4 separate regions of the Homo sapiens genome follow, and regions 2, 3 and 4 are each linked to region 1. The links are contacts of gene promoters, found by promoter capture Hi-C in blood cells and fetal thymus (Javierre and others, 2016). All regions are on one chromosome and are shown on one strand. The core of a region is centred on a gene start or on the middle of the fragment in contact, and the rest is flanking DNA. Distances in the headings are between cores, read along the strand shown.

The links. Contacts are between HindIII fragments. The CHiCAGO score rates a contact against its expected background, and 5 or more counts as called.
Region 2: a fragment that was not itself captured here is called in contact with the fragment with the promoter of TAF2 in region 1 in 1 of 17 cell types (neutrophils); the score reaches 6.3 in neutrophils.
Region 3: a contact is called between a fragment that was not itself captured here and the fragment with the promoter of TAF2 in region 1, in 1 of 17 cell types (neutrophils). The highest score is 8.0, in neutrophils.
Region 4: a contact is called between a fragment that was not itself captured here and the fragment with the promoter of TAF2 in region 1, in 1 of 17 cell types (monocytes). The highest score is 5.5, in monocytes.

The regions. Positions count from the first base shown.
Region 1 is chr8:119,831,329-119,834,858 of GRCh38, forward strand. TAF2 (TATA-box binding protein associated factor 2) reads right to left here and starts at 1,513. Exons shown (of 26, transcript NM_003184.4): 1 at 1,154-1,513; 2 at 349-403. The coding sequence starts at 1,236. DSCC1 (DNA replication and sister chromatid cohesion 1) reads right to left here. Exons shown (of 9, transcript NM_024094.3): 9 at 2,648-3,530. LOC105375728 (a long non-coding RNA gene) reads left to right here and starts at 1,551. Exons shown (of 4, transcript XR_928590.3): 1 at 1,551-1,748. RefSeq lists enhancers at 1,165-1,214, 1,275-1,634. The HindIII fragment of the contact is 3,868 bases long and covers 1,439-3,530 here.
Region 2 is chr8:119,426,662-119,430,191 of GRCh38, forward strand. No RefSeq gene overlaps it. Among named protein-coding and RNA genes, the nearest start is that of CCN3, 12 kb to the left of the region's middle. The HindIII fragment of the contact is 1,682 bases long and covers 893-2,574 here.
Region 3 is chr8:119,446,806-119,450,335 of GRCh38, forward strand. No RefSeq gene overlaps it. Among named protein-coding and RNA genes, the nearest start is that of CCN3, 32 kb to the left of the region's middle. The HindIII fragment of the contact is 8,788 bases long and covers 1-3,530 here.
Region 4 is chr8:120,112,291-120,115,820 of GRCh38, forward strand. No RefSeq gene overlaps it. Among named protein-coding and RNA genes, the nearest start is that of COL14A1, 11 kb to the right of the region's middle. The HindIII fragment of the contact is 605 bases long and covers 1,242-1,846 here.

The DNA of each region.
Region 1 (3,530 bases), core at 263-2,762:
TTAATCTTAATTTTTTTCATAGAAGAAATGTCGCTATGGGCTTATACTTGTTTCATGCACAATTATAAAATGCTTGGCTATACAGGCTTTCATATTATACACCAGATAAAGAGGAATAAAATTTTAATTAGGAAATTGAAAAAAAAGGAAAGGGAGAATTTGGGAGGCAATAGGTATTAATAGAAGGACCATGGAACTTGTAATCATACAGACCCTAATTTTAATTCTTACCTATTCTTGAAACACAATTATCTGGAAGACTACAAACTTTCTAAGTACTGTGAGGGGTGGATTGTTACTCTTTATAGTGGACTTGTTACTATTTATAATTGTTGAGAATAAACTTACCACAACAGATTTTCTCTGGAAATTTATGTTGTTGATGCAGACGACCTGATGGGTTGTATATTAATAAATATAAAAAGAAAATAAGGAAAAAATAATTTTTATTATTAAATCAAAGTATAATTCTATCCAAGTATAAATTAGGACTATGTTCTAAGTAATTCAAAATTACATGTCAATATTTCATTTTAAAACTACGAATTGGGGCCTGGTGCGGTGGCTCACGCCTGTAATCCCAGCACTTTGGGAGGCCACGGCAAGCGGATCACGAGGTCAAGAGTTCGAGACCAGCCTGGCCAACAGAGTGAAACCGAGTCTCTACTAAAAATACAAAAGTTAGCCGGGCATCGTGGCACACGCCTGTAATCCCGGCTACTCAGGAGGCTGAGCCAGGAGAAAAGCTTGAACCCGGCAGGTGGAGGCTGCAGTGAGCCGAGATCGCGCCGTTGCACTCCAGCCTGGGCGACTGAGAGACTCCGTCTTAAAAATTAAAAAATTAAAAAAAAAAAAACACTCTACCAATTGGGATAATTTTTTAAAATCTAGCAACAGTCACGAAAACAGATTTGACAGAAATACAATCTAGTACTTAGACAAAAACTTTAGTAACTTGCAACGGGAATTAAATTTGCTGAATAACCTGTCATTCAAAACATTTTTACCTTACAAACACCATTTCCATCACAGTGAGTAAATTCTAGTTTCCCACTAGGTTTCCCAGGCCCACCAAGTCAATTTCAAGCAATCGCAAAATATAATTAATGGCAACAAAACCAAAAGGAAGGAAGGGAAATGAAAAAATACTTATAATTTATATGGCCTTGGGCTTTCAAAGCCCTTGTCTCCTTTCTTCCTGTTCATTCTGGCGGGCTCTACACCAGTCAGCGGCATGAAGCGGTCCCGCGGAGCTTGGCTTCCCGGCTTCCTAGGGGGATACGGGGCATTACTAGTCTTTGGCACCTCACACTCTCCACTCCCCTGCGGTCCCCAAGTCACGTCTCGCAGCTGGCCGGTGCCCAGGTGAGCGACCTGACGGGTCGCTGCCCGCCTCAACCTCGCTCCTTCGACTAGCTCCTAGAAGCCGCCGTCGACAAGCTTCTGTCACAGAGATGCTCCTCTCCGCAAGGGCTCGAAGCTACCATCCGCCGACATCTTGTCTGTAACCTCTGACCTCCGACGTCAGCGGAAGTGGAACGGCGGCGGGGGTAGAACCAGGAAGTCTTGTCAATGGGCAGGGCTTGCGATCTTCGCATGTGTCTTATCGTAAAGAATTGTTAAAATTTAGGATAGGGAAAAAACTATTTAATGGATGAAGCGAGAACAGCAGGAAGAAAAGGAGGGAAGGTAGTTTTCTAGTACAAGCATATTGAGAAGAATGGAGGACAAAGTTTGCGAAGAGCCAGGTATAAATAGGCTGGGGCAGGGTGCTAGTAACTGGGCGGGGTGGGGTGGTGGGAAGTCTCCCGAAATCAGGAGGTGCGTGCCTCTGGCTTGCTGTGTGAACAGACACACTGGGTCCGGTGATTTAAGCTGTAAAATATGTGATTAGACTGCAGGTAGTCTAAATGTCAAAACTGCAGCACTCCACAGCTCTCACTAGGCACTGCTGCCTTAGTATTTATTTTAAAATATAGATTACAAGGCCGGGCGCAGTGGCTCACTCCTGTAATCCCAACACTTTGGGAGGCCGAGGCGGGCCGATCATTTGAGGTCAGGAGTTCGAGACCAGCCTGACCAACATGGTGAAACCCCGTCTCTACTAAAAATTACACAAAATTAGCTGGGCGTGGTGGTGCACGCCTGTAATCCCAGCTACTTGGGAGGCTGGGGCAGGAGAATTGCTTGAACCTGGGAGACGGAAGTTGCAGCGAGCTGAGATCGTTCCACTGCACTCCAGCCTGGGCGACAGAGCTGAGACTGTCTCAGAAAAAAAAAAAAAGAATAAAATATAGACTACAGGCCAGGCGTGGTGGCTCACGCCTGTAATCCTAGCACTTAGGGAAACTGAGGCAGTCATATCACTTGAGGTCAGCAGTTCAAGACCAGCCTGGCCAACATGGTGAAAGCCCGTCTCTAGTAAAAATACAAAAATTAGCCCTGCGTCGTGGCGTGCGCCTGTATTCCCAGCCACTCGGGAGGGTGAGGCACCAGAATCACCTGAACTCGGGAAGCCGAGTTTGCAGTGAGCTGAGATCATGCCATTGCACTCCAGTCTGGGAGACAAAGCGAGACTCCCTCTCAAAATAAATAAATAGACTACATAGAGATATATAGACTGTGTATATATATCATATAATCCATATAAATGCAGAAACATTTATTGAAAGACATTTCGAAGCCATCGTGTTTGTATTTCATGTTCATGACAATAAAACTTGTAAACTTCAGTAACAGTTAAACCTTCTTTAATTATGGATTAGCCATTAACATTTTTGAAACGTGGACCATTTAACCTCGGCCTACCCCCTCCAACTGTCCTGGTGATGAGTTCATTAGCTAAGTTAAAATTAATTTGAACTTTGATCTAAACCAAAACAAATCAGGAAAATAAAGCTGTAAAGGAACTTTATCAAGCATTCCAAAACCAACTAGAAATTACTTGAAGTTTTCGAGTGAGCATTGCCTGTGCCAGTATTCTTCATTATAGGATTATAAACTCGTTTTTTTCCCAAAGCGCATGTCTACGCCAGGCAGAGGAGTAATTATTCAGCCAATTTCATGGATGTAAACGATGGATATAAATAATTGATAGCACCTAGAGGCTTCCAGTTTGGGTGGAAGGCTAAAAGTAGAGGGGAACTCACTCACTTGAGAAATGATATTTAAGTGAATAAATAGTTCTCTTCTATGAAACTATTACTATTTAGTTCTCTGGAAAACTTAAGTGTATTAATGATTAGAACATCAAATCCTAAGTAAAGAAATGACATTTTAAATATAAAAAGCCAAACTTTAAATAAATCATAGAGACCTCAGACATAATATAGGAAAGAATTCTTTTGTCCTTGTTTACACTGTGTACATAGTACAAATATAATTTTAAAGCTACATCCTATAACATTTAAGAAATAACAGTAGTTTCAAAATGCTTAAGATGAGGAGAAAAATGCCTTAGAAGACTAGGTTTCTAAAAGTCAGAAATAAAAGTACAAGTTATTTTTCTTCTATCCAGCAACTTTATAAAG
Region 2 (3,530 bases), core at 484-2,983, 400 kb before region 1:
ATTGACTGAGCAGAGTTTAGGGCTGCAGAAAGAGCACAGGCTTGAGAATTATCCAAGCCTGGGTCTGAATGCCAGGCCTACTCTTTCCCAGCTATGGGATACTGGGCTCTCTGCACAGTCTCTGGAGCTCAATTTTCACATCTGTAAGATGAGACCATGTATGGATAGGGTGACCGACTGCTCCAGTTTATCTCGTTTTAGGAGTCAGGACTTTTCAGTTATAAAATCAGGACAGTCCCAGGCAAACTGGGAGAAGTTGGTCACCCTAAATATCAACCTCATAGTATTACAATATATATTCATAAGCGCTTGACTGTGCCTGGCACATAGTAGGTCTGCAAATGGCAGCTGCTGATATAAGTGTTTAGTAGAGCCAAGCATTGCCCCTTATTCTACACATTTAATGTTCAAAGGTAGACATTATTGACCTTATTTTTACATGGAAAGATGAAGAAACTCAAAGAAGTTAATGACCTATTAAGGACACAGTAAATGAAGGAGCTAGGATTCAAACTCAGGGTCTGTCTGAGCTCAGAGCCAAAGCTCTTTCCTTTACACAGTGCCACAGACACTGAGGCCAAGTATATTTTCAGCAACCAAAACAATTCCAACAGTTTCATTTTTGTGCTATTTTCCCAAACTATAAATGTTCTCTTTTAGTAACAGCATTGCAAAGTATTGAGACTGTTGAGATCATTCTATGAATGTCACATTTTGAAAGCACTTAATTGCTGGTGTAGTGATAACTCACATTTCATTGAAAATTATTTGGGGATTTTTCTTTTCTTTTTCCACACAAAGATTCAATTCAACAATGAGGTAAGAACATCTTTAACTATACAAAGAGCTAATTTGTTACATACATATCTGTACTTGATGAGATTATCAGTGAAGCTTTGGTGGAGATTTCTGGGCAGTACTAGATTTCTCTCACAATGTCTTCCTTGTAGGTACATGTTGTCATCCTTCCAAATGGGTTTCACTCCAAAATGTTCAACATCACAAGTCAAATCATCAAAACAGTATGTCCTTTTGGCTATGGGCTATAGGGCTTAGTTTGACAATCCAATATTGTTGGAAATGTATTCATCTTAACCACACTGCACAGTTCTTGCAGGCATTCTTATGCTGTCTGGACCACAGAGGGTTCACAAAATTCAATTACTACTTCAATAACACCGCTGGCACTTGCTGAACTCTGAATAATGAAGGATTATCTGCAGCCTTCCAGCTGAGGACCGTGAATTACTGTTACATTAAGCCAGCTGTTCTGGGGATAATCAGGAGGTGCAAAGGGTAAAGATGGCAATGTTGTACCAGTCTTCCTAAAGAATGTGTGTCTTTCTCCTTAGGACAAAAAAAATGGTCTGAATTTCAGCCCAGTATACAATTCCATTCAAATGACAAGGTTTCACAGAATGAACAGCCCACAGGTCCTACTGGAAGGAAATTGGCAACAAATATTTTATAATCCAAGCAGAAAATGTGGCTTGGACTTACATTTTATTAGCAAAATCTGAGAACCAGACTCTGCTTGTAGCATAGAATCAGAAGTTTGGAAGAAGTTATAAAGTTCTTAGCTTGGGTTAAATATGGGTCAGTATGCTCCAAGCTGACCCAAGTTTGTCCTGCTGAAGCAAGGCCACTTAGAAGATCCTGGGAGGACTTTGATACAGGAGATGCTAGTAAGTGGGCATTCTAGCTCCTCTGAAAGTTGAGCAGTGAGAATCTTCCCCAATAATTTGTAGAAAATCATAGCCCCCAGAAAAGAGAATAAAGACCATAAGGATCCTGTTAAGTGTACCATGTTATCTCCCTAAATTCCATTTCATGGTTCAAGAATCCACTCTAAGTTCACCTTCTCTAAGAAGCCTTCTTCACCAGCACTCTTTTGACTACAATGAGCCTGACCCAACCTCTTTTGTGCCCAACTGCTCTTTGTAACAATTACTATCATAGCAGCTGAAACACCATCTCTGTTACTTGTTTGTATGTGTGTTTCCCACGAAACCCTAAGCTCCATGAGAGCAAGGACCTTGTCTGGTTTTCTCACGGCTGTTTTACACAGTGATTCTCAAGGTTGTTCAGCACAGTATTCCAAACAGCTGAACAGACTGAACACTTATTATCTAACCATCTAGCAGCAAAAACCCAACATTTCAGGCCAAAATTTCTATAGCTTCTCACATTTTCTCCTAAAAATGCAAGTACTTTTTGACTTCTCCTTAATCTTCAAGTAAAATTGATGCTCCAGAAAAATGAACCATGTTTACACTGAGACCTCTTGCATCTTCTTGCATATTTCATGTAGTCAAATTAGCAGTAATAATAAAAAAGATTCCAAATTCTATCTCAATTTAGGTGCCATCAATTGTAAGGTATACTATTAATGTACATATCAAAAAGAAATTTTAAAATTCTGTCAATTGGCTCAGGACACATCATCAATTGGAACACTCATATCACTTTCAGAAATGAAAAAAAAAATCTAATGTTTATTTTAGAATATATGAAATTTAGGGAAAAAATGAAAAAGGAGGAAGTGGAGGAAGAGGAAAAAACTGACATTTATCAAGCTTATTAGGTTCTAGACACTATGCAAAGTGCTTTACGTAGATTACTTTATTTCCTTTAATTCTTATAACAGTCCTTTGAGGTCAGTACTATTTTATCTCAAAATTACAGATGAGGAAAATGAAGCTTTAGAAAGAAAAATAGCTTGCATGGCATCATAAACCTATTATGTGGTAAAGCCAGAATATGAATCCTCACATTCTGAATCCAAAATGTGTATATTTACTCTGCCTTATTGCCTATATTCTGGGTTTCATGTACTCCATTTGGAGAAACAAGTAATTGTTGCACAAGAAACTTGAAAGAATGAATGAATGAATGACCAGCTAATAAGCTGTAAAGGATTTGTGCCTGGATATTGGTCACCACCTGAGGAACTTCCCCGACAGGATGCATGGGGGCCATATGCAGATCTTTGCCAAGGAAAACAGTTGATTTTGGCCAACAATTTTGTGACCAAGAACTGTTAGGAATATGGTCCTGAGCTTTTCACTGGCCCCTGAAATTAAGGTAGTGGTCTTTCTTTTCTGGATTAATTAAGTAATTGATCAAGTCAACAAAAACGTAGTGATCATCTACCATACTCCAAGTCATTTGCTGGAACTGGGAATAAAGCAGTGAACAAGGCAACTACAGTCCTTGCCCTCCTAAAGCTTATAGTCTGGTGGGTTGTATGAGTTTTTCTTTAAACCCTGATTCCCCGGACTAAATTATCTAGATTTGTTTGTTTGTTTGTTTGTTTGCCTTTCCTTTTCTGCTTACCACTTTATGCTCATAGGATTGGACTCCTTAGAACTGAGCCCCATGGTTGGTGCCTCCCAAATTCCAGAGAAGATCCCTAGAGCTGAGTCTGAAGCATTTCTGGCCCCTCCCTGTAAGCCAGCTCCTCAGCTGAAGCCTCCTCAGATGCCAATTTCTCATGTGAAGGTCAGATAATTATGTAGGTCTCTCTGCAA
Region 3 (3,530 bases), core at 704-3,203, 380 kb before region 1:
TTCACTGCAACCTCTGCCTCCTGGGTTCAAGCTATTCTCCTGCCTCAGCCTCTCGAGTAGCCGGGATTACAGGTGAGTGCCACCACGCCTGGCTAATTTTTGTATTTTCAGTAGAGACGGGGTTTCACCACGTTGACCAGGCTGGTCTTGAACTCCTGACCACCCGTGATCCACCCACTTCAGCCTCCCAAAGTGCTGGGATAACAGGCATGAGTCACCATGCCTGGCTGGCTTTAAGTTTTTCATCTGGTTCAACTAACACTATTTCTGCTCAGAGAAAGGAAGGATTAAAAGGGAAAGTCATGAGCTGCTGCTTTTTTTTCTTAAATTGAGGTGAAATTTGCGTAACATAGAAATAACCATTTCAACTTGAATAGCTCTGTAGTAGATAGTACACTTATCAGTTGCTTTTGTTACTAAGTAACTCAGAACAATGTGAGGCTCCTATTGGAAGAAATTCTCAGAGAATTTGGAAATGGAAACTACTAGGAAATGCCCCCTACCTGGTAGATTATACTGGTTGGAGGTCAAGACCCCGATGCCCCATCACCCGGGAGAAGGAGAGAAAGGGAAATCCTGGAATTTACTAAAGATGGCTGGGGTATAAAATTAACTATAAAATAAAACTGGAAAGGAGACACTTTGTATGAATTTAGGGTTTCATTTGAAATTGTAGTTATCCCAAAGAAGGTAAGAATGACCAAGTAACTATTAAAGCTCTAGTTATCAGAATTTTCCCATTGGATTGAAAAGATTTGGAATGAATGACAGATCAGTTTCTTCTCATACACTCCCACTATCAGGTAGCAAAAGGGAGAAAATAGCCATGAAAAGAGAAGAGAGGTATGGAAGTAAGGATTAGTGGTGCTGACTGGCTCTCAGTTTTATTTTAACTTTTAAATCATCCTGTCTTTCATCTAGAGAATAATGATGTTGGGAAAAATTTCCCCATTAGAATAACTTTACCCCAAATAAAGAACAATGAAACTAGCAAACCCTTAGTCAAAATTTGGAGGAACTCACAGCTTGAAGTATTATAAGATTACTATAAATTTCTCCCCAAAGCTATGATTTCTGTTTCACAGAAGAAATATGCCCAATGACTACATGATTAGAAGTTAGAATGGATATCAGTTCCACCCCTTTTTATTTTATAGGTAAGGACACTGAAAACCCCAACTCCACTCAACAGAAATATTTTTGATCCTGGATAGAGTTACTGGGAACATATTCCAATAAATCTTTATGAGTGTATTTTTAACATAAGCATAACTATAAGCTAATTCATTCATATAAATTAGCACTTCTGCCAGTTAATAGGGGAAGAAGAGGGACAGAAATATAAATACATACAATGATCTATTCCTCTCCTCACGAGTTCTATAAATAATATTTCATCATTGAAACAAAACTTATAATACCTCCTGATACTCAAGACAATGATATTTAAAAGTGGAAAAGGCAAAAGGAACCGAAATGGAAGTAAGGTTTCCATGCTTTACTTGAATTAATAAAGTATTGATACATTGACTGCAATAAGTCACATATATATATTATAATATCCAGAGCAACCACTAAGAAAATTATACAAAGATATGTACCAAAAAACACTATAAATAAATCAGTGGAGGCCAGGCACAGTGGCTCACAGCTGTAATTCCAGCACTTTGGGAGATTGAGGCGGGTGGATCACTTGAAGTCAGTTTGAGATCAGCCTGGCCAACACGGCAAAGCCCCATCTTTACTAAAAATACAAAAAAAAAAATTTAGCCGGACATGGTGATGCACACTTGTAGTCCCACCTACTCAGGAAGCTGAGGCAGGAGAATTGCTTGCACCTGGAGGTGGAGGTTGCAGTGAGCCGAGATGGTGCCACTGCACTCCAGCCTGGGTGATAGAGTGGGACTGTGTCACAAAAACAAACAAACAAATCAAAACAAAACAGAAAACCCTGACACTGGGTAATTCATAAAGAAAAGAGGTTTGGTTGGCTCATGGTTATGCAGACTCTACACTGACATCACTCAGCTTCTGAGGAGGCCTCAGGGAACTTTCAGTATAATGGCAGAAGGTGAGCAGGAAGCAGGCATGTCATGAGGCCAAAGAGGAACAAGTAGGGTTGGGTGGGGGAAATTGCCACATACTTTTAAATGACCAGATCTTGCAAGAACTAGCTCAGAACCACAAAAACAGCACCAAGCTGTGAGGGATCTACCCCCATGACCCAAACACCTCCTACCAGGGCCCAACTCCAGTACTGGGGATTACAATTTAACATGAGATTTGGGCAGGGACAAATACCCAAACTACATCACATTTCTTGCTTTCCAGTCACACTAAGTCTTCTTGAAAGAATAGTCTATGCTCCCTTCTCTACTTTGTTGTTGTATCTTACTTATGGCTGCAAGAAACAGACTACTCAACTAAAAATTTCCCCAAACAAATTGGATTCTATTGACTCGCATAATAAGCTAGGAGATACGTGGCCTCCAGCATTTGTTTAATGCACAATAATATCTTCAGATATGTAAGTTCATTCCTTTCTTTGATTCCCTCATCCTCAGATGGTGTCCTCATGTCTTTAAGAGCATCTCCAGGGATCACATCCTCACACAACTACTTAGACAGGAGGAACAGGAGGAACAGGAGACAAGGAAGAAGGCTCTTCTTAATCATTGTTCTCTTTCTTTTCTTTTCTCTTTTTTTTTCAGACAGAGTCTTGCTCTGCCACCAGGCGGGAGTGCAGTGGCATGATCTCAGCTCACTGCAACCTCTGCTTCCCGGGTTCAAGTGATTCCCCTGCCTCAGCCTCCCGAATAGCTGGGACTACAGGCACGCGACACCATGCCTGGCTAATTTTTTTGTATTTTAGTAAAGACAGGGTTTCACCATGTTGGCCAGGATGGTCTCCATCTCCTGACCTTGTGATCTGCCTGCCTTGGCCTACCAAAGTGCTGGGATTACAGGCGTGAGCCACCACACCCGGCCCCCGGCCCTCTTCCTTTTCATCTGTGAGAAAAAGTTCCCTAGCGGTCTTTCTGTAGTTCCCCTTGATCAGATTTAAATCGCATGGCCATCTCTACTAACAAGGAAAACCACAAAAGCATTTTAAGACTCTATCCCAGCAGGAGACTCTGCCTGTAGGGAAGAAGTGAAGAGAGTGGCCCTTGGTAAATTGGCCAAGAGAATTGGCTATGCTCATCATCCTTTTAGTTTAAAGAGACAGCAGTGTCTGGGGAGTGCAGTGGTGGAGCATGCGAACTTTAAGCCCCTTTTCTGTTTGAACCTCCTACAGAATTTTAGCATATTGACTACTTCCTCCTTCCCACAAATTTCTACTGGAACAAGTAATTTCACATCACCCTATCCTAATGTCCCAGTATCTCTGTGCCCCTTTCCATTCAGTCTTGCTTTTCCATCGTGTCTTAAATGTAAATAAGCCTTTTTTTCTTTCTTTCTTTCTTTTTTTTTTTTTTTTTCTAGACAGTCTCGCTCTGTCACCCGGGCTGGAGTGCAGTGGCAAGATCTTG
Region 4 (3,530 bases), core at 294-2,793, 280 kb after region 1:
ACAATAATGACTATAAGGGATCAAGGGAGCCAAAGATAAGTTCTCCCTGGGATAGTATTGAGCAGGAACTTGAAGGAGGGGTGGGTTCTGTTTAGGTAGATGGGAATAGAAAAGTGTTCATATGGTTTAACATCAGAAAAAGGGCAGAATTAGGAAAATTCTATTTGGGTGTCAGGGAATAATACAAGAGCAAACTTTTAGGAAGTGCTTACTAAGTAATAGGTGAAGAGCCTTCCAGATATTATAAAATTAAATCTCCTAAACACGATAAGAGGTAACTATAACTACCATGCTACAATGTGGATAAAGTAACATGTCTGGCTCTGACTTCAGAACTCACATCCTTAATCTACATTATAAAGTTTGTCCAGGAGGTTGAGTGGACATAAGATAGGAAAGTTAGGCTAAGGCAGACACGGAGGAACTTGATTACTAAGCTAATATATTTACACCTTATTCTGTTTAAAGGAGCCACCACTGGGAGGATCAGAGCAGGTGAAGGATGTAAGTAAAGTGGGTTTGCTCCTGCAGGAATATACAGACTGTTGATCTCAACCTTGGCTGTGTGCTAGAATCACTGAGAAGATTCTGATAAAATACCCATGTCTGCCCCTGCTCCTGGTCAGCTAAATAAGACACTCTGGGTTGCTCATTTCCCTCATTTACTTAAAACTTTCCATTGCCAAGATATAGTCAAAATACTTACCTTGGCATACAAGGTTGTCCAAGGTCTGATCCTTGTTCACCTCTTGTGTCTCACATCACCCATCTTTATTTATTTATTTATTTATTTATTTATTTATTTATTTAGAGACAGGGTCTTGCTCTGTCACCCAGGCTGGACTGTGGTGGCGTGATCTGGGCTCACTGCAACCTGTGCCTCCCAGGCTCAAGCGATCCTCCCATCTCAGCCTCCAGAGTACCTAGGACTATAGGCACGTGTCATCATGCCTGGCTAATTTTTAATTATTATTATTATTATTATTATTATTATTATTTTGTAGAGATAAGGTCTTATTCCCAGGCTGGTTCCCAACTCCTGGGCTCAAGTGATCCTCCCAAAGTCTTGGGATTACAAAGGCTCTGAGCCACTCCACCTGGTCTTAAGTCTCTCCTCTGATTTCACCAAACTCTGCTCATTCAAAATAATTTGGGCCTATGCAAGCTCTCTCTTGCCCGATGACTTTGTTTTCTTGTTCTTTTTTTCAATTGTTTGGTTGAAAACCCAAGGACTTAATAAAAGCTTTTCTTTCTTTTCAGAATGCTTTTGTTTCATATCTTCTCAAGGCTGGCTGTCTCTCTTTTTGTCAGCCTAAAGGTCACCTCCTCACCTATGTACTTCTTGATCATTCTACCTGAATAAGTTGCATAATACCTGCACTCTTGCCCCTCAGCCCGCTACCATCAGAGCACTTCATGTTTTGTCAGTGTGTGTTTGTGTAGCTGGACTCTAGACTCCACAAGGCCAACGGACTTGTTTTGCTCACCCCATGCATACTCAGAGCCCAGCAGTAATATCTGTGGCATAAGTTAATGAGAAGGCATATCTTGAATAACTTAGTTAATGTCACCCAACTCATGAGGGCAAAGCCTGGAGACGAACACAAGCTCGAAACCATCATGGTGCTCTGCTGGAATATGGTGGTTTGCTCATTCATTCTTGCTTTTGTTCATTCATTCAGAGAACATGTTTTGGATTGATAATATATGCTAAGCCAGGTGCTAGGGACACAGATAAAATGGTCATTGATCCTGAGAACATAATCTGGACAACTTTAAGTGAATACAGTCACAGAGGGAGCAGGGCACTGCCAACTGATTTCAGTGCTCAGCTTGGTTTCCTCTAAGCTTCTGTACTGAGGCTATTACAGGGTAGAGAAATTCTCAGTCTAGTGGCCCATGGTGAATTTTCAGACAAATCTGAAGGTTTTGGATTGAAATAGTAAAAAGTTTGAGAACAAAAGTTTCATCAATTAATTAACACGTCAAAGGGCACAGATCAGAAGAGATACTAACTTGAACCACAACTTACATGAATAACAGCTGAAAACAAAACAAATAACAAATTTCGCAGAACACTTCACCACAGCATAATGAACAGAATTTTCCAAAACCTAGACCCATATGAGATTTTCTATCTCATGCGTTCTCTGTCTCTCTGCTCTCTCAATTCTCTAAAAGAAGAGATCTCTGTGGTTTTCTCTTTATTTCTAGCTCTGTGTGCTTCTCATTTCTCTGGAAAATCTAAAATGTCCTCAGAGAGGACTTTCTGGCCCTCTTCAATCTTCCCAAGGCTGATTCTTGAAATGCTGCCTTAGGATGTCTTTCCTTTGGTTTAAAGTTTTGCTCCTATTAATATTTTAAATTTCTTTGTAGTCTCAGTGGATATATCTTGGTGGTTATATGTTATCCAAAATTTTTTTCTGGGGTGTAGGTTCTTGGAGGAAGTCTCACCAGAGGCCTGAGGCTAGCCTTGGTGAATCTATGGACTATGCTGTATATGGAAGCAACAGCCTGAATAGCAGGAAATAATCTGAGACGTAGCTTTAGGCTCGATGTACAATGCAATCACCACTTCTTTCTTTTCCTTTAGCAACATATTGGCTTGACCAATAGGCAACAGGTAACAGGTAACAATGCTTCATCCTTGTCATCAGTTTTTACTGTTTTTTGGGGGTGTGTGTTATTATTGTGGCTTCTTCAGAATAGTCAAGTAATTTTCCTTAAAAGAGAAAAAATAGGCAACATGAAATTAAGTTGATTAAAAGAATGTGAATGGGAAAATAGATCAGCATAGTGTTAAGGATATTAGCTTTGGTGACATTTGAATTCTCACTTCCATTTACAGACTCCATAGTAATCTTGGTAATCTCCTCTCTCCACCCTAGTTCCCTCTTCTGCAAATAAAGAGTGTAATAGTACCACTTTATAGACCCCCTAGAGATGCTTCTTAGCTGGTCTACTCTTCTGGTAAGGGCATGAGTCTCATCAGGGGCGCTCGACCCTCATGACCTCATGACCCTCATGGCCTCATTACTTCCCACAGGCACTACTTCCAAATACCATCTTATTGGGGGTTTGGGCTTCAACCTATGAATTTTGGGAGGACAGAAATATTCAGCCCAGAGCCATGGGATAAAAAGAGTTGGTGCTAAAATAAGAAGGATTGGGTGGAAGATGTTTAAGAGGGCAAATTTCTAGTCCCTCTCCTTAATGCTACACTCCTGTATATTGGTACAAAACAGGTTTATTGTTTGGAGATGGAAAAACGTGGAGTTTTGAGCCTGAGAGTGAACCCATGCAGTGAAGAGAACAGGCGTGCTACTGACAATAGAGGATTAAGAGGCCATATGCATAAGGAGTGCTGATTTTGAAGTCCTCAAGCCAACTCGTTCAATCAGAACTCTGGCAGCCAGACTTTGTCCTTGAGGCAAGGGACAGGAAGTGCACACTTTGAGGAAGCTGCCAGCCCAAGAGGAAGGAATAAAGACACTGACCCTGGGGCTTCTTAACAAAGGGCTACAGTGAAG